2 separate regions of the Homo sapiens genome follow, and region 2 is linked to region 1. Evidence: promoter capture Hi-C in human tissues and cell types (Jung and others, 2019). All regions are on one chromosome and are shown on one strand. The core of a region is centred on a gene start or on the middle of the fragment in contact, and the rest is flanking DNA. Distances in the headings are between cores, read along the strand shown.

The links. Contacts are between HindIII fragments. The study calls those that stand out against the background at their distance.
Region 2: a fragment that was not itself captured here is called in contact with the fragment with the promoter of ACTC1 in region 1 in 2 of the 25 tissues and cell types used here (H1 embryonic stem cells and mesenchymal stem cells).

The regions. Positions count from the first base shown.
Region 1 is chr15:34,792,596-34,798,088 of GRCh38, forward strand. ACTC1 (actin alpha cardiac muscle 1) reads right to left here and starts at 2,954. Exons shown (of 7, transcript NM_005159.5): 1 at 2,911-2,954; 2 at 2,085-2,235; 3 at 650-974. The coding sequence starts at 2,213. The region is part of intron 2 of GJD2-DT (GJD2 divergent transcript); the gene reads left to right. RefSeq lists an enhancer at 4,101-4,572. The HindIII fragment of the contact is 17,333 bases long and covers 1-5,493 here.
Region 2 is chr15:34,836,362-34,841,784 of GRCh38, forward strand. No RefSeq gene overlaps it. Among named protein-coding and RNA genes, the nearest start is that of ACTC1, 44 kb to the left of the region's middle. The HindIII fragment of the contact is 5,086 bases long and covers 733-5,423 here.

The DNA.
Region 1 (5,493 bases), core at 1,704-4,203:
GGTAAATTCCTGAGGACAACACCACTGCTCTAGCCACGGCAAAGCCCGCTTCCAATCTTGGCTAAGAGATGCTAGCAATGGGCATTGATCCAGATAAAATTAGATTCCTTACACACAAAGAATAAAAATGCGCATCAGGAATACTAAATCTGAAGCAAACTGCAGCTCATCTTTTTAACTATTATAGTAGAAAAAATTCCCGAGGACACTTTCAAATGACCATCTTTCTTGTCAGCCACGAGCACATTATGTAAGCACCCAAGGGTGTTTTTCTTTGCTCCTATTGAACTTACACGTTTCTCTCTCTTTTGACTCAGACCCTGTATGGAATGTATTCTCCTTGGGGATGCTTGCCCAGGTGATGTGATGGTTTAAACACATAACAATGACTGCTGCACTCCAAGCTGCTACACTGCGCTGAGCTTTAAATGAGGGAAGGACCTATCTCCACAAGCTATCAGCTCCAACAATAATTGTGCTCCGAAACTAACCTCAGGGCACTACTGTTAACTCTTTCTCTTAGCACAGACCTTGCTAGGGAATGGGAGGAAAGGGATTATCCCTTTTTCAACTGGGGGATCTGATTCACAGCAAGGTCGGTGACTTGGGAATGTGATTCATCAGTAACTGTCCCCAGAGCCCAGCATACCTGTGGTACGGCCAGAAGCATACAGGGATAGCACTGCCTGGATGGCCACGTACATGGCAGGGACATTGAAGGTCTCAAACATGATCTGAGTCATCTTCTCCCGGTTGGCCTTGGGGTTCAGCGGGGCCTCTGTGAGCAGGGTGGGGTGCTCCTCGGGAGCCACACGGAGCTCATTGTAGAAGGTGTGGTGCCAGATCTTCTCCATGTCGTCCCAGTTGGTGATGATACCATGCTCGATGGGATACTTCAGGGTCAGGATGCCTCTCTTGCTCTGGGCTTCATCACCTACGTAGGAGTCCTTCTGACCCATACCCACCATAACTCCCTATGAGAAGAAAAAATGAGAAAATCATGCTCTCACCATGTCAGGAATATAATCAGTGTCTTGTCCATTTATATCTAACTGCCCAAGTCAAGGAACATATTTAAATACCAGAAATAACAAGCAATACGATTTTACCCCAATTTAGAAGAATTATTTAAAAATCAATCTTCTACCTTCTCCCCACTCCCCCAAAGATGTATAATTCTATTGTTGAGAATATAACTCAGGAGAGAATGAAGCTATTCCACTGAAGAAGCAGAGCCTCACCTCACCTTAAAAATATCATATGCCTTCATTAAGTTATTAAGCTCATCACCCATGTCAACTGGAATATAGATGACTGCATTTTGGAATGACTGAATTAATGACACATTGTATTTCTCCTAAGAAAAAGATTTTGACATTCAAGTGAACACATAATGATGGGCTGATATGCCATCCTCACTCCAACAGTGAAATTCAGCCTGTCCAGAGCTGTTCTGGAGTCATTCACCAGCTCTGAGGACTAAGCTCTCCTGCTTGGCAGCCTGTCTGGCCAGGCATGTGACAAACCCAGAGAGCATGGCATGTCTTTTAACAAACGAGGTGGTATGTCACTATCACCATGGCACTTGCTGCCTCTGTCACGCCTGGCTTCTAAAAATGCAACAGCCAGGAAGGAGATAGATTGATTACACCTTTGGGGAACCCTGTAAACTGGCTGTGAACATGAGAGAGGAATGTGGATTTGGTCCTGGTTGGTTGGGAGAGGTGATATTGTTAGAAGTTTTAAACAGGACTGAAAAGAGAGGACAAGGAAGAAAATGAAGTGTATAAGGCAGAGAAGACACTAAAGACTAAAAGTCCAAAAGGCCATTAGTGGAGAGAAGCAGGTGGCTTTCACACCAGGGAGTGGGACCCTTTTAGAGGCGTGCCACTCAGGTGTACATTCCTCAGTATGTTGGGGTTTTGTGGAGTATTGCTTGCCTTGGCTTGGATTTGAAGTCAATCAGCCTTCTCTTAATTTGGCCTAAAGAGTTCATCGAACAAGAGGGTCAGGTGAGAGCCATTTCCTAGATCGCTGGACTGAAGGGGTCCCGAGTGGGACGGGGGGCTCGGCGGGAAGTTTACCTGGTGCCGCGGGCGGCCCACGATGGACGGGAAGACAGCGCGGGGCGCGTCATCGCCCGCAAAGCCGGCCTTCACCAGCCCAGAGCCGTTGTCGCACACCAGGGCGGTGGTCTCCTCGTCGTCACACATCTTGGCACAGCTTCAGGGGGTTCTGCAGGTTGAGGAGGGGAGGGCGGACCACGCTTAGCTGCCTGTGCAGCTGGCCTTCTCCGCACCCAGAGGACAGGACAGAGCAGAAGGGGGTTGTGGGGACTGGACAGGGGGTTGGGCGGGGAACACTCCTGCCACCTCCCTTCCCCTCGAATCATAAAAGGGAGGGAAGAAGCCGCGGAGGAGACTGGGGACAGAGAAGGGCAGAGGAATCCACCCAGGCTCCCTGGCCAGGAGTTCCAGCTAGGGTGCCAGGTGCAAGGAGGGACCCAAGAAACCCAGCCCCTTAGTCCTCCCCAGCCCTTTAACTTTCTTCCTTTTCACGAACTGGGAACTCGATCTCCAGCCCTGTCCATATCGCCATGCCTGTGCCCCAGATGGAGGGGAAAGCGCACGAGAGTAGGGACCCAAAAGCCCCTTGGGGAGCCACAAAATTCCCCTTCTTAGAGCCCCTGCGAGGTCCTGCGAGGACCAACGCCCAGGACAAAACAAGTTAGAACCAAATCAAAAAGTGTGGGCTTTAAAAAAAAAAAAAAAAAGGCAGTCGCAGAGCGGCAGGAGCTGGGGCCTTGGCTGAATGCGGGCCGGGCTGGCCAGGTGGCGGCGCGGGGCTGGCGTCCGGCGCGGCCCGCGGACCAGGCGAGGAGTGAACGCGGAGGGCCGGGCGCTGACTCACCGTCGGCGGGGCGGGTCGGCTCGGCTCCGGCGGCAGCGGGCTCTGGGTGGCTGGCTCCAGGAGGGCCGCTTTATAGAACGCTGATGGACAGGGTCAGTTGGAGCAGCCGGGGGCAGGGGTGGGGGGCCCGGTCTGCCACCTTGCCTTATTTGGTCCCCTTCGCACCCGCTAGGACTGCCGAGGCCATTCATGGAGCCAAGGGCAGGGGAGAGGATCAGCCAGGGAGCCCCCAGACCATGTAAGGAAGGGGAGGGGGCAGTCAGGGGGATGGCCAAATAGGGAGCTGGGGAGGGGCAGGCGCTGAAGGGTAGGGGGCAGGGGAAGACTAAGTGACGCCAGCCCACCCCTCCCCCTTTCTGGGGTGTGGGTGCTCCCTGGATGGTCTGTGGATTCGGTCCTCCGCAGCCCTGCCAGCCTTGGGGACAATAAGCCACATGCAGTGGGAAGGCTTGGCGCCCTGCCCTCTGCTGAGGGGTCCTGACAGCTGGGCCAGGGCAGCAGGGGAGCAACAGCGGCTTCTCATCTTCCAGGGCTGCCACCAGCACAAAGGACACCGCAGCAGCACATCTGAGTGGCTGCAAAAGGGGCACCCAGGACAGGGCACCCTTCTGGTCTAGTCCCCGCCAGCCTGAATGGCTTTACTCAGAGAGCTGGTGCTGGGCTCATCTAGGTCAGAAAGCTGAGATTAACCAAGGCCACCCGAGTTCCAACCCATGCATGGATCAGGGTCTGGCCAGGGAAGAGTCAGAAAAGGGTTTCTGTGAGAGCTTGGCCAAGTCTTGCTGGAGAAGGGACCAGGTTTACCCCAGCCCAGTTATTGGGTAGCCCTCATCCATGCTGCAGGGTTTTGCTCAAATTCAGACTCTGGTCTTCAGGCCAGAAAAGGATCCCCTGCTGCCAAAGTGAATAAAGGAACAAATGCCAAAAGTAGCTTGCCCACTTGATGGTGGGGAGATGAGCATCTTTAAACTGGGGGCAGAGGCCCTCACTCCAGGTGGAGACAAGACTGCAAAGGCAAATACTTTGATGGAGAACATAGCAACAACTTAAACTATAGGACTACACCAATCCTTGCTACTCAAAGTGCAGCCCATGGACAAGCAGTATTGTCATAACCTGGAAATGAGCTAGAAATGCAATCTCAAGAGCCATCCCAATCCGCTTTTCAGCAAGATCCTCATTTGCTTGGTATGTACATTAAAGTGTGAGAAGCATTGGCATAAATGACAGATATCATCTCCTCTGTGGAAAACAGATTTTGCAGGATCTTGAACTTTTGAGAAGGAAAAAGAAAAATGACATGAAATGAGGAGAGGGAGAAGGAAGAGGGAGATGTAAGAAGGACACAGATCACTAGTTTGCCCTGGGGTGCCCTGCATTCTCAGTTCTTGACTGGAGCTTTGATTTTTAATGCTTGTGTTTTTCCTCCAGTTCACACCAGTTAAAAATAGAAAACTGGGCACTGGCATCTCTCTCTAGAGTGGTCTTGGGCTGATATGCTGAGGAGGCCTGCTGATTAGATACTTGTCCCGACTGGGGAATGCTGGGCCCTCCCCTCTGAACTCCCCAACCATGTTTGGGTTGGTCTGGAGAAGAAACGCGATGGGCAGCTGTGTGGTGGGGTCGGGTAAGAGACCTGGCTGAGATTACTCTGTGCAGCACAGCAGGCATTTTACAGTGAAAATGTTTATTGACAGGATGCCAAGAGTAGAACTGCCTTGTCTCGTGAAAATATAGAAAAACCAAGGAAAAGGAGAAATGGGACTGGTGTCAGAGCCAGACAGAACTGGGCTCAAATGCTGCCTTTATCACTTACTAACTATCTGTTTGGTCTTGAGCAAGACACTTAACCTTCCCAAGCCCCAAGTTTTCCCTCTCAAAAGTGATACCATAACACTTGTTGCAGAAGTTATTGTGTATTGTAATAGTTAGAAACAAATGCTGTAAGTAATATGGAAGATACAAAGCAAATTGTATGTGTAATAATGATACTTTTGGAGGCAGTAGTAGCTCTGCCTTTTAAAGAATCAGGTTGATTTCATTCTTCATTGATTCAGCAAATCTTTGCAGGACAAGAACTGTGCTAGTTAAGGATTCAGTGATAAATAAAACAGAGCAGGACTCATCCTCCGTGGCAATTACAGAAAAGTCAGACAGCTATGGCACAAACTGGGAGGGAAGAAGAGGTATCAGCAGGATAGTCACAAAAAGGGAATGGAGGTCTGAAAGAGTTGCCGAGAAAGCCTTCCCCAGGATGTGTTGTTCGTTTTTAAAAGTAGAGCAGAACTGAAGTTTATGAACATTTGTGTGAGAGAAAGAGTTTCTGCATGGGAGTGGCTGGTGAGAGACTCCCACTATGACTGCTATAGGTGCAAAGACTCTCAGGAATGGAAAACCATGATTATTGACCTTTGTCCTTCGCACAGGCTTCGGGGATCTAGGAGGCCACTTCCAGCCCCCTCATCTCAGGACCATTGGCTCTAGTGGGAGGCCAGTAGAACAGTGCAGGACACAACAGCAGTTTTGTGAAACAATATTCACCCTTAAAATGTTTGAAAAATGTGTTTCCTATTCCGCTCAATT
Region 2 (5,423 bases), core at 2,026-4,525, 44 kb after region 1:
GCGGATTACCTGAAGTCAGGAGTTTGAGACCAGCCTGGCTAACATGGCGAAACCCCGTCTCTACTAAAAGTACAAAAATTAGTTTGGCATGGTGGCATGTGCCTGTAGTCCCAGCTACTCGGGAAGCTGAGGCAGGAGAATCACTTGAACCTGGGAGGCAGAGGTTGCAGTGAGCCAATATCACTCTAATGCACTCCAGCCTGGGTGACAGAGCGAGACTCAAAAAAAAAAAAAGAAAAAGAAAAAAAATGGATTTGTCTGTGCACATTGCCACATTCAGGTAAGTGAGAGTTTGGAGCTCACTAGGTAATGATTAATGCCGACCCCAAGCAACATATACAGCTGCAGGACGGCCAGCATCCTTCAGAAGCTCCACACAAATGGATACATGATTGGTAAACTTCCCCTGCTGAGTTGTTAAGTGGGGCCATGCTAGCTTCCCAGACTTGAAAAGAAATGAAAAGGACAACCTCCTAGGACAGTTAGGCCACCACACCAAGAAGGTGGCCTTAGCTCATAAGCTTTCTTATGGTTCCCCTCCACACGTAAACATCTCTGTCAATATCCACACCTCCTTCCTCCAAGTGGTCAGATTTTAGATGTCTTAGTGACCCCACAATGGCAAAGTTTTTCTTTGTTCAATGATCCAGGCAAGATTTAATCACAGCATCTTGGAGCTGGAATGGCCCTTAAAAATCTGATCAAATCAAGGCTGCTGGGATTCAGACTTTGTGCCTCCTGGCTTCTCAGTCTACAATGCTATTGAACACCTTCTCTATTCAAGAAGAAGGAGGAAAACATTTCATTTGGGCCTCGGTGAAAGTGACAAGGAAAAGAGAGGTGAGAATTGACTCTCTGCCCCATTGAGTAATGGTAAGTGGAGGAGAAAACAGGCCAGTGAAGACAAGGGGACTGGAATGGATTTGGGGAGCGCAGGGAAAAGCTTAAAACCTATGACTAGGGAAGGTTGCAGTGAACGTTGATAAGAAGCAGACAGGAACCCATGGAAGAGTCCAGGCCATGAGTCAGAAGCAGGAGAGGCTTTTGAGCAGTCACAGTCCAGCAAGCACCACCTTAACGGTAGGCAGCTACTGTGCAGATGCCTGCCTGAGCCTCCCTCTTGGCCAGAGGCAGTCACAGCTGAGTGGTGAGTCAGCACCAAGCAGTCATTCATCCTTTTTTGAAGCCAAGACTCTAGTCATTTCTGAAAAAATAATAAATACAAAAGGATCAAGGAGAAACTGTTTTTATTTTTCCTTCATAACAAATGTAAGTGGACCCATTATATGTTTTACTAATAAAAGCAGCCACGTCTTAAGAGCACCATGGATGCTACATTAATAAATTTCGTCCATCATTGATGCTGCCAGTGGTGCCAAAGGATAGATGTTGTTTGCCCAGCAGTGACATTTGAGGATCTGTCAATGTAACACTGTCCACCAGAAAAACATTTCCAAAAGCCAAGTGAGGACTTTCACTCATTTAAGAGGCCAGAGTGAGCCAGCTCACCATCACATGTATTTCAGTAATAGACAAAAATAAATTCTGTGCAACCAATTGTTTCAGCAGGTCCTTCTCCACATCCCCAGAGCCTCTGTCTTATTTCCTAGTAGCACATACCAGCCTCTCCCGTTCCACTAAACCCAGAGTCCACCCTTCTGGGCAGCACTTCCATGCATGAGCCAGTCACAGTATAGACCCTGTACTCAAATATCCCAATTCAAATCCTGCTTCCACCACTTACCAGCCATGTAAAACTTTGGCATGTTTCTTAATTTCCTTAAGAAATTTAAGCTTCAATTTCCTCATTTGTATAACAGAAAATATTATAGTACCGTGGGGTTTGCATCAAATGTAATCATTTGTATAAAACACATATCACAGTATCTGATGCATAAGTGCTCAGTAAATATCATCACTATCACTATCATCAACATCACCACCACCACCATCACCATAATCATCACCATCACCATCACCATCATTACATTATTGTCACCACCACCATCATCATCACTACCACAATCACCATCATAATCACAACTACCAACACCATCACTGTCATCATCACCACCCTCACCATCATCACCATCTCCATCATTACCATCTCCATCACCATCATCATCATCATCATCACAATCACCCTCACCGCCACCACCATCCTCATCATTATCACCACCCTCACCCTCACCTTCACCATCGTCATCACCATCATGATCACCATCATGATTACCTTCAGCATCATTATCGGCAGCAATAGCAACAGTGGCATCTCAGGTCTTTTCCCCACTCAGGCTATGCCTGTTCTGTGTCTTCCTCCCTCAGCGCGCTGTTCTCCAGCACTGGTCTGCTAAACCAATGTGTGCCAAAAGCAGAGGATTTGGACAATGCCAGGACTGAGAAGGAACATGTTTGACCAGATCTTTTAGAACATTTCAAACCACACAAAGCAGGTGAAAGGCTGGTCCCTATTTATTATACTATGGTTCTATCCAAATGGAAGGGTGCAATGCCTGGCAAGGGCATCCTAAAAATTTTTGGCCAAATAAATAATATCTGAAACTTTTTGGACAAGCAAACCAAGGCATATGCCTCTTGTTCATATCAAGTGGTTTCTAAGCTGCTTCAAACAGGAAATCTACTCTTGAATCCAGTCTTGTGTGGGAGACAAGAACATCCACAAGCAACTAACTGTACTATCACGGGGTAATGCTACCAGCCAGATGATAACAGTAATAAAAATGGTAATGATAGCTACTATTTATTGAGTCCAACTATATGTCTTGCATTATACTGGTCAATTCCCATATCTCAACATATTTAGTCTTTATAACAACTCTTCACAGATGCTATCATGACCCCAATCATGCAGATGAGGGAACTATAGCAATGTGGTCAAAGATCACCCAGTTAGCAAGTGGCAAAGCTACTTCAGTTATTTTTGAGTTACATCCATCTAACTCCAAAACTACTAATCCACACTGGGTGGCTGGAAGGCTGAGAGAGGCAGTCATGGGAGAGCACAGCTGAGGAGTGACTGATTTCATAAGAAAGGGAGGTGGGAAAATCTTCACAGAGGGGATGAATTTGACCTTGTAGAAGGAGTTTGCTAGGCCAGCAAGAAAGGGCTTTTTAGCAAAGGAAGCCATGTGAACAACCATACGGAAACATCCTGGATTTGGGGACCAGGGAGGGATGCACACAGCGTGATAGGAGCACAGAGCACATGAAATGAGGCCAACATCTTACAGCCTGATCCCTCTGGGTTGACTATTGTGTCCCAGCACCGGCACAACCTCCTCATTTCTTTTGCAGCTGGTAGGGCATACGATGTTGCCTTGACCCATTACATTTTCCAATCTCTTCTTGTTCTCCTTGACTCCAGATGCTGTGACACCCAACATGTAATACTGCCCTGTTGGGACTGGTCCCTGGCTTCCTTTCCCCATCATCATTAATTCCTCCAAATAGTCTACTTCCTGTCACTCAGAACAATCAGCTCATAGAATCTAGCTTAAGACAGAGGACATTTTCCAAGTGCTGTCTTGAGCCCCCAAAATGGGCTTAGACATTACCTTCTAGGCCAGAGGTTCCTAACTGCAGATACAGAGAGGGGCTCCATAGATTCACAAACCATTAGAATACACGCAAAAGTATTGTAGCTGAAGTTTTAAGGGAAAATGAAGCTCTCATTAGAGTCTCAAAAGGAAAGGAAACCTGGCTTTTCCAAAAGATTAAAAATGATATCAGTGCTGGGCTGTTCAATATCATATGTAGCCACTAGCTACGTGCAACCATTTAAATTATCTAAAATTAAATAAAATTTAAAATTCAATTTCTCAGTCTCACTAGCCACATTTCAAATGCACATGTGGACACTGAACAGCACAGATTCCAGAACATTTCCGTCTTTGCAGAAAGTCCGATTGGAAAGTGCTAGCGTAGATAACGGGGAGCCGTCAAGGATGCTGAAGAGGGGAATAACATGATGAGCTACGTAATTGGAGAGGCCAACTGTAGCAGCAAAATGGAGGGCAGATTTGGGAGGGAAAAGCCATAGTCAGGGAAGGCAACTGGGAGGAATTGATTGTGGTAGCAGTGGGAATGGAGAGGAGGTCACAATTTTGAGGAATGTTTCAGAGCACTTGAGGAAAGACTGAGTCAGGGGATAGAGGCAGAAAAAGAAGACAAAGACAACTCGAAGCTTTCTTATTTGAACAGTAGAAAATGCTTTCTACAGAGCTCCTGTCTGGCCTCCTCTCTTGCCACTGCTCCCTTCATTCACCTTGAACACCCTGGGCCAGGTCCTGTGTCAGGGCCCTCAAGGTGCCATTCCCTCTGCCTGGAATACTCTTACTCTAGGTCTCCAGATGTCTCCCTCCCTCACCTCCTGCAAGTGTTCATTCATTGGTGCCTTTCCTCGTAAGCGTGAGTACTAGGTGCTGAGGAGACAGTGAGCATTGCGAAGCAGATGTGAGGGGTGGGTGAGGAAGACGATGAGTCCTTCTGAGTGTGCTGAGTTTGAGGGGGTCCAATAAAATGCTGGTTGTAGGTCAGCTGATCAGTATCAGTGACACGTGTTCATCGAAGAAGGGCAGACTGTGTGCTGACAGGCCTGGCCCGGAGCAGACTTGGGAAACAGGCAACGCTGCTGTCTCACCCCAGGTACCCAAGGCCTTCTAGTACCCTCTATCTTTTCAAATCTTCTCCCAGGAAATGTCCTGATACACTTATTAATACTAAGTCCTAAAACACTAATATGGGCAATGTTAGCCAACCCAAGTAATTTTCATTTTAATTTGGAACAGGGTCCTAAGTTATAAGACTGAATCTCTCATGGTGGGTTTTTAAGTATCAATGACGAATCTGTCGAGAACACACTTCCCTACTTCTCCCACCCAGAATACCTCATAGCTGGCTTTCTGATCTCCTCTGAGCTGACTAAAGCAATTTTTGAAAGGCATTCACTAGTGAGTGGACAAAAAAATTCTTTGTGACTAACTCCTCATTACTCAGAAAATTTAAGTGGATCAAACATCCCATCCCCTCACCCTTTGAGTATGTTGGTAATCACAATGTTACTGTATAATGTGAAATTTTCCAAATAGAACTAAACTCAGGTCTATAAATACACATGATTAAGCCTTCAAATATAGCACTGCTTTATTTTCATGGGGGCTATTTCTGTGTGGTGATTGCCTGGCTGATTTGCAATTTCAGAATACAAATGGCTTTTCTCCATAACTAATAGGAAACTTGGCAGGGTGCTGCACACCCAGGCCCTCTGTGAAGAAGTCTGTTCAACAGTGGCAAGTGCTCTTCTTCTGAATTATATAAGCAGGGCTGACAAGAGGCAATGGTACAACTCCACATCCTGCTAAGTTGAAATAGTGTCTGTTTGGTTTTTCTTCTGGTGCGAGAGG